Regions from separate parts of the Homo sapiens genome. Here regions 1 and 3 are each linked to region 2. The links are contacts of gene promoters, found by promoter capture Hi-C in blood cells and fetal thymus (Javierre and others, 2016). All regions are on one chromosome and are shown on one strand. The core of a region is centred on a gene start or on the middle of the fragment in contact, and the rest is flanking DNA. Distances in the headings are between cores, read along the strand shown. Region 1 has its middle 43 kb from the start of CCDC32. Region 2 holds the start of RMDN3 (regulator of microtubule dynamics 3). Region 3 has its middle 6.7 kb from the start of VPS18.

Evidence for each region. Contacts are between HindIII fragments. The CHiCAGO score rates a contact against its expected background, and 5 or more counts as called.
Region 1: a contact is called between a fragment that was not itself captured here and the fragment with the promoter of RMDN3 in region 2, in 1 of 17 cell types (naive B cells). The highest score is 5.0, in naive B cells.
Region 3: a contact is called between a fragment that was not itself captured here and the fragment with the promoter of RMDN3 in region 2, in 1 of 17 cell types (endothelial precursors). The highest score is 6.4, in endothelial precursors.

Annotation. Positions count from the first base shown.
Region 1 is chr15:40,520,488-40,523,187 of GRCh38, forward strand. It overlaps a transcript of CCDC32 not described here. Among named protein-coding and RNA genes, the nearest start is that of CCDC32, 43 kb to the right of the region's middle. The HindIII fragment of the contact is 7,648 bases long and covers 1-2,700 here.
Region 2 is chr15:40,753,891-40,756,590 of GRCh38, forward strand. It overlaps RMDN3 (regulator of microtubule dynamics 3), which reads right to left and starts at 1,364. Exons shown (of 13, transcript NM_018145.3): 1 at 1,193-1,364; 2 at 707-900. The coding sequence starts at 893. RefSeq lists a silencer at 755-969 and enhancers at 1,085-1,294, 1,505-1,624, 1,715-1,824. The HindIII fragment of the contact is 1,997 bases long and covers 578-2,574 here.
Region 3 is chr15:40,886,354-40,889,053 of GRCh38, forward strand. No RefSeq gene overlaps it. Among named protein-coding and RNA genes, the nearest start is that of VPS18, 6.7 kb to the right of the region's middle. The HindIII fragment of the contact is 3,310 bases long and covers 1-2,700 here.

The DNA of each region.
Region 1 (2,700 bases), core at 167-2,666, 230 kb before region 2:
TGATATAATTTCAGCAAATAACTACTGACATGAATTCATAAATGGCATCATTTTGCATTCTGCTCTGTAGGCTTATAATAAAAGTACTTCGTCTACAAAGCAATAATGCAACTTTATTTATAAAATCATTTTCCAATTAAGAAAATTTTCAATGGTTTATAAAAGTGGACATTTGCACAATCTTTTTCATAATTCATGAAATTGTTTAAAGTGTAAAATTCAGTATTTTTTAGTATATTCACAGAATTCTGCAACATCACCAGAATAAATTTTAGAATATAATTGAATCTTGAACAACGTGGAGGTTAGGGGTGCCAGCCTCCCTGCAGCTAAAAATCCATGTATAACTTTTGACTCCCCCAGAGCTTAACTACTAATAGCCTTCTGTTTACCTGAAGCCTTAGTGATAACATAAACAGTTGATTAACGCATATTTTGTCTGCTATATGTATTATACTCTTACAATAAAGTAAGCTAGAGAAAAGGAATGCTATCAGGAAACTCATAAGAAAGAAAAAACTATGTTTACTATTCATTAAGTGGAAGTGGATCATCATAAAGATCTTCATCCTTGTCATCTTCGCGTCGAGTAGGCTGAGGAGGAGGAGGAAAACGGGTTGGTCTTGCTGTCTTGGGGTGGCACAGTCAGAAGAAACTTTGTCTATCAGTGGACCAGTGCAGTTCAAACCTGTGTTGTTCAAGAGTCAACTGTATTTTCATCACCCCCGAAAAAGAAACCCTATATCCATTAGCAGTCACTCCTCATTTCCCCTATATATTTGCATATTCTAGACATTGCATATAGATGGGATTATACAACGCGTGTCTTTTGTGACACTTTTCTCACTTGGCATAACGTTTTCAAGGTTCATCCACGTTGTAGCATGTATCAGTACTTCATTCCTTTGTAGTGCCAAATAATATTCCATTGTATGGAATTTTATTTATCCATCCATCAATGGATGGATATTTGGGTTATTTCCACTTTGGGCTACTATGAATAATGCTGCTATGAATATTCATATACACGTTTTTGTGTGGGATATACCTAGGAGTGAAATTGCTGCATCATATGACTGTTTTCCAAAGTGGATGCACCACTGTACGTTCCCACTAACAATGTATGAGGGTTCCAGTTTCTCTACATCCTCGCAGACTCTTGTTATTGTCTATCTTTTTGATAATAGCCATCCTAATGAGTGTTAAGTGGTATCTCATTGTAGTTTTGATTTGCCTTTCCATGATGGCTAGTGGCCATTTCTGTATCTTCTTTGGAGCTATGTCTATTCAGATCCTTTGCCCATTGTTTAATTGGGTTATTTGTCATTTTATGATTGAGTTGTTAAAGTTCTTCATAAATTCTAGACAGCAGTCCCTTATCAGATATCTGATTTGCAGATATTTTATGCCATTCTGTGAATTGTCTTTTCACCTTCCTATTGGTGTTCTTTGAAGCACCAAAATTTATAATTGTGATAAAGTCCAGTTTATCTATTTTTTTCTTTTGTCACTTGTGCTTTGGCCCATACCAAGGTCACAAATATTATTCCTATATTTTCTTCCTATATTTCTTCTAAGAAATATATGGTTTCTCCAAAGTAATGCAGATTATTTAAAAAAAGAGAAAAAAAGAAATATGTGGCATGTAGGGTGTCAGATAGGGGTCCAATTTCATTCCTTTGCAGTTGTATATCCAGTTGTCCCAACACCATTTGTTAAAAATACTATTTTTTTCTCCATTCAATTGTCTTGACACTCTTGTTGAAAATCAATTAATCATAAATGAAAGGGTATACTTCTGGACTCACAATTCTATTCTATTGCTTTATGTCTATCCTTATGGCAGTACCACACTGTCTTGATTACCACGGTTTTATAGGAAGTTTTGAAATTAGGAAGTGTGAGCCCTCCAACTTTGTTCTTCTTTTTCAAGACTGTTTTGGCTATTCTGGATTCCTGGAATTTCTATATGAATTTTAGAATCAGCTTGTCAATTTCTACCAAAAAATCCAGCTGTGATTTTGCTGTAGATTGCAATGAATCTGTAGATCATTTTGGGGAAAACTGGCATCTTAACCATGTTAAGTCTTCTGATCAATGAACATAGAACGTCTTTCCTTTAATTTAGGTGTACATCTGCTTTTTAAATGTTACTGGGCAGGGAGCTTAAATATCAGATGGTTCTAGTTTATTCTCAAACACTTGGGTAACTTGAGTAAAGCCCATTAAGCATGTAGATGTCACTCAGCAAAGCCTGAGGAGGACAGTCCCTACCTTTGCAGTACGGACAGTTGCTCAGCATAACTCAGAGGTGCTGCCACAGGTTTCTGGTTTTCCTTTCTTTTTTTTTTTTTTTTTTGAAACTATTTCGCTCTTGTTGCCCAGACTGAAGGGCAGTGGCGCAGTCTCACTCACTGCAACTTCGGTCTCCAGGGTTCAAGCGATTCTCCCGCCTCAACCTCCCGAGTAGTGGGGATTATAGGAGTATGCCACCACGCCTGGCTAATTTTTGTATTTTTAGTAGAGAGTGTGTTTTCGCCATGTTAGTCAGGCTGGTCTTCAACTCCTGAACTTACCTAAGGTCAGGAGTTTGAGACTAGCCTGGCCAACATAGTGAAACCTCATCTCTACTAAGTGATCCACCCACCTCAGCCTCCCAAAGTGCTGGGATTACAAGAGTGAGCCACTGTACCTGGCCAG
Region 2 (2,700 bases), core at 114-2,613:
TTCTAATATATGATTTAATACATAAGCCTCAAGACTTTTAATCCCTACAAGATTATTCTTTTTGCCCTCTTTTGGACTCTTCCTCTACTTATTACACACCTCACCCAACACTAAGCAAGTGCCTTTAATACCCACATAGCACTATTGTGGCCAGAACTAAAAGTGAAAGTTAAACAGTCTTTTTGAAATATACTTTCTTGTGAGTACAGGCGAAAGAGTAGAGAAAACCACGACTGCTTTTTTTTTTTTTTTTTTTTTGAGACAGAGTCCCACTCTGTCACCCAGGCTGGAGTGCAGTGGCGCAACCTCAGCTCACTGCGGCCTCCGCCTACCAGGTTCAAGCGATTCTCGTGCCTCAGCCTCCCCAGTAGCTGGGACTACAGGCCGCGCCACCACGCCCGGCTAATTTTTGTATTTTTAGTAGAGATGGGGTTTCACCATGTTGACATCTGGTTGAACGTTGGCCAGGCTGGTCTTGAACTCCTGACCTCAGGTGATCCGCCCGCCTCGGCCTCCCAAAGTGCTGGGATTACAGGCGTGAGCCACCGCGCCCAGCCCGACGACTGCTTTTTCAACAAGCTTCCAAAAAAGTGAAACCCTAAAGCACTTCTCTCCGTTACCCTGTCCCACAGTCTCCACCGAAAGCAGCCCAGACCTCAGGCCCATTAGTCTGCAGTGACCGCGGTCTCAGGAGACGGGCTCCTACCGTGGCGTCCGGGATCTGAAGTCTGCGTATAGTCCAGGGAGTTGGGCAGGCTCTGGCTGCGGCCATGACGCTGGGTCCGTTTCCATCGCTGGCTGTAAAGGAGGCACAGGAATCCAAGGCCGGCGGCGGTACCCAGCAACAGTCCCAGCCCGGCACGGGCACCACCCAGGGCTCCCAGTCTAGACATGCTGCACCTGCGGCCAGCAGAAGTCACCGGGAGCAGGCAGGCGGGCGGGCGGGCGGGGGTAAGGAGAGAGAGAGATTCGTGAACCCGGTAAACCCACCCTCAAGGCTGAACCCCGGCAGGTATCCCCTTGCCCAAACCCTGAGCTCTCGACTACGTGCACCCCAGTCTGAACCCTAAGGCTTCCTCCAGCCTCCTGGGCCCCACTGCCTCTCTTCTCACCCAGCCTGGACGTAGCCGCCCCTCCAGTACACCCCCCGACCCGGGTCACAGAGTCCGGCTTCTGGGCCTTCAACCCCCACCTCAGCCTCACGACACTGCAGACCACAAACCCGGCGCCCTGGCTGCAAACTCCTGGCCTTCCGCCGCGGCCCCCGAAGGCGCTCTGGCCTGGCAGGAGATCCACTCAGACCCTTACCCGGCCGCCAGCCACCATGGCAGCAGCCGCCGCGGGCTCACGCTGTCAGTGACCGTGACGTCAGGCAGGCGGCGCCAGGTGCTCGGCGCCCTGCGGGAAGGCGCAGAGAGATGACCGCGCCGGCCCCGCCCCTTGTCTGTTTCCCTCAGGGGCGGGGCCACGGGCGCCGCCGGAGGGGCGGAGTCAGCACAGAGCGCGAAAGGAAAGCAAGAAGGGGCCCAAGACAGGGGAAAGGCGGGAAGGCAGGGAGACTTCTTGGGCGGACGCTCGCGCAGTCACCCTCACCGTCCGGCAGCCAGGCCTCCATTTCCCTCCGGTCACACCGGCTTAACTTGCTGCTCCCGGAATACGCTCAGCATATTCACACTTTCTACCTGCGCTTCTGCCTGGACCTCCCCTCTGTACCTGGAAAACGTCACGCTCTCCCCACATTTTATTTTTATTTTTATTTTGTAGAGACTGGGTCCCGCTCTCCTGGTCTCTCAAAGTGCGATCCGCCCGCCTCGGGCTCCCAAAGTGCGTGAGCCGCCGCACCCGGCCATAAATCTTAAACCTAACGTGCTGTCTTATAATTCTGTTTTACTCTTGTAATTGTATGCAACTTCTTATAATTGTGGCAACTAAAAAGACCGATTTTATGGACTATGATAACAATTTTATTGTGAACATTTCTTAAGAGTTAAAATTTAGTTTAGTGAAAGAAATATCTAGGCCAGTCCTCCCAATACCCTTGACTAGATCTTATATTTATTTACCCTTTAATTGTGAGATATTGTATACATATAAGAATACAGGAGGCCGGCCGTGGTGGCACGTGACTGTAGTCACAGATACTCTGGGGGCTGAGATGGGAGGATCACTTGAGCCCAGGTCGTCGAGGCTGCAGTGAGCCATGATCACTCTGGGCAACAGAAGTCAGGATATCGAGGCCACCCAGGCCAACCTGGCGAAACTCCGTCTCTACTAAAAGTACAAAAATTAGCTGGGCATGGTGGTGCACGCCTGTAATCCCAGCTACTCGGGAGGCTGAGGCAGGAGAATTGCTTGAACCCAGGAGGCAGAGGTTGCAGTGAGCCGAGATCTCGCCACTGTACTCCAGCTTGGGCAACAGAGTGAGGCCTCCTCTCAAAACAAATAAACAAAAACAACAACAACAAAAAATATATTTATATATATATAAAGTATATATATATATATACACTTTATTTTGGAGGAAATAAAAATTTCCTCTGGAAACCTTCCCAGATCACCACCTTGGTGAAATTAAGCTTTTCACCCTGCTTTGCTCCTGTGGCTCTATTGCCTCCATTATACTTTTTTTTTTTTTTTAGACGGAGTTTCGCTCTTTTCGCCCATGCTGGAATGCAGTGGTGCGATCTCGGCTCACTGCAA
Region 3 (2,700 bases), core at 175-2,674, 130 kb after region 2:
ATTTCTGACCTAGACAAGTGAGGCCACTGGGCCTGCAGTCCTGAGGGCAGTGGGGGGATGAAAGAGAGCAGCTTGGCTAGAAGCTCCCTCAGTGAGAGAGGGATGACAGTAGCAGGGAGGGGATACTTTTTGAGAATTGGGGCGATTCAGGTAGGTTTAGACACATGCAGAAGGGAGCCAAACATGAAGGAGAAGAAAGAAGGGCGTGGAGAGCTGTTCTGAACAGGCCAAGGGTCTTCTTTCCTCAGCATATTTTAATGGAAGCCAACAACTGTGCTAGGCCCTGTGCCAGGAAGTGGTGTGCTAGAGACACTTTTCCCTGTCTGGTGAGAATTAGAGAAGACAGGGGCCTGGTCCTGGCAAGGGGAGGAGTATCAGGGAAGCCATTCTAGAGGGAGCAAATCCTCAACACCAGACACTCTAATGTCCAAATGGGTGTGGTGCATTTTGGAAACATCCTTAGATCAGCGTGACTGGGGCTCTGAGCAATGAAAACAGATGGAATTTAACTGGGGATGGGGCAAAGGACTGCTAGGTTTTCTTTCTTAGTAAGTCTTTTTTTTTTTTTTTTTTTTTTTTGAGACAGCAGGCTCACTCTGTCACATAGGCTGGAGTGCAGTGGCACAATCTCAGCTCACTGCAACCTCTGCTTAGCGATTCTTCAGGCTCAGCCTCCCGAGTAGCTGGGACTACAGGTGTGCACCACCATGTCTGGCCAGAATGCCAGAATTCCAAAGGATTTATGCAGATACTTCACCCTCAAGGAAGCAAAAACTCCCACCCCTTAAGTGCAGGGTGTGTAGGTGTGTAGTGACTTCCTTCCAAACAGTACAGCATGGAAAGGAGGGAAAAGAGTAACTCTGTAGTGGAGAATCCTGACAAGCACTATCTTGGTCAGGTGATCAGTCATGATGATAAATCATGTTGATAGTGTGTATCCTCGATATAATAGAGAGGTGTTGATAATGGTTCTTTATCTCCCCAAACCATAAATAGCCCTAGTCTAAACATGAAAAAAAATTAAATGAATTCCAACAGAGAGCATTCAACAAAATACTTGCCTAGTACTCAAAATTATCAAGGTAATCAAAAACAAGGAATATCTGAAAAACTTAAAAACTGCCAGTCAAGAGCAGTCCAAGGAGACATGACGACTGTTTTTCCCTATACATAACCTGTGATAAAATTTAATTTATAAATTAGGCCCACTGTGAGATTAACAACAATAATAATATAGGACAGTTATAACAACAGACTGTAATAAAAGCTATGTAGGCCAGATGAGGTGGCTCATGCCTGTAATCCCAGCACTTTGGGAGGCCAAGGCAGGCAGATCACCTGAGGTCGGGAGTTCGAGACCAGCCTGACCAACATGGAGAAACCCTGTCTCTACTTTTAAAAATACAAAATTAGCTGGGCATGGTGGCACATGCCTGTAATCCCAGTTACTCGGGAGGCTGAGGCAGAAGAATCACTTGAACCCGGGAGGCGGAGGTTGTGGTGAGCCGAGATAGCGCCATTGCACTCCAGCCTGGGCAACAAGAGTGAAACTCCGTCTCAAAAAAAAAAAAAACAAACAAGTTATGTGAGGCTGGGTGCGGTGGCTCACACCTATAATCCCAACACTTTGGGAGGCTGAGGTGGGCAGATCACCTGAGGTCATGAGTTGGAGACCAGCCTGGCCAACATGGTGAGACCCCGTCTCTACTAAAAATACTAAAATTAGCCAGGCATGGTGGTGGGTGCCTGTAGTCCCAGCTACTCGGGAGGCAGAGGCAGGAGAATTGCTTGAACCCAGGAAGTGGAGGTTGCAGTGAGCCGAGATTGCACCATAGCACTCTAGCCTGGGCAACAGATCAAGACTCCATCTCAAAAATAAATAAATAAATAAAAGTTAGGTGAATGTGTTCTCACTCTCTCAAAATATATTATTCTATTATCCACACCTATTTCAGACTGCTATTGACTGCAGGCAACTGAAAGCCCAGAAAGCAAAACTACAGATAAGGGGGAACTGCTGTACTTCAAATGGACACAGGCATCAATGAAAAAGCCTCCGGCAGGGCACAGTGGCTGATGCCCATAATCCCAGCACTTTGGGAGGCCGAGGCGGGCAGATCACAAGGTCAGGAGATCGAGACCATCCTGGCCAACATGGTGAAACCCGTCTCTACTAAAAATACAAAAATTAGCTGGGCGTGGTGGTGCGCCCTTGTAGTCCCAGCTACTCAGGAGGCTCAGGCAGGAGAATTACTTGAACCAGGGAGGCAGAGGTTGCAGTGAGCCAAGATTGCGCCACTGCACTCCAGCCTGGTGACAGAGCCAGACTCCGTCTCAAAAAATAATAATAATAAATAAAATAAAATAAAAAAGAGAGACTCTAGTGGCCCAAACAGGAACAATCTGAGTAATAATATAAAGTAGTATTGGTGGGTTCTGGAAGTTAAAAATAAATAAATAAAAATAGACCTGGCGCGGTGGCTCATGCCTGTAAACCCAGTACTTTGGGAGGCCGAGGTGAGTGGATCACTTGAGGTCAGGAGTTCGAGACCAGCCTGGCCAACATGGTGAAACCCCGTCTCTACTAAAAATACAAAAATTAGTCAGGCGTGATGGCACGCGCCTGTATTCCCAGCTACTTGGGAGGCTGAGACAGGAGAATTGCTTGAACCCAGGAGGTGGGGGTTGCTGTGAGCTGAG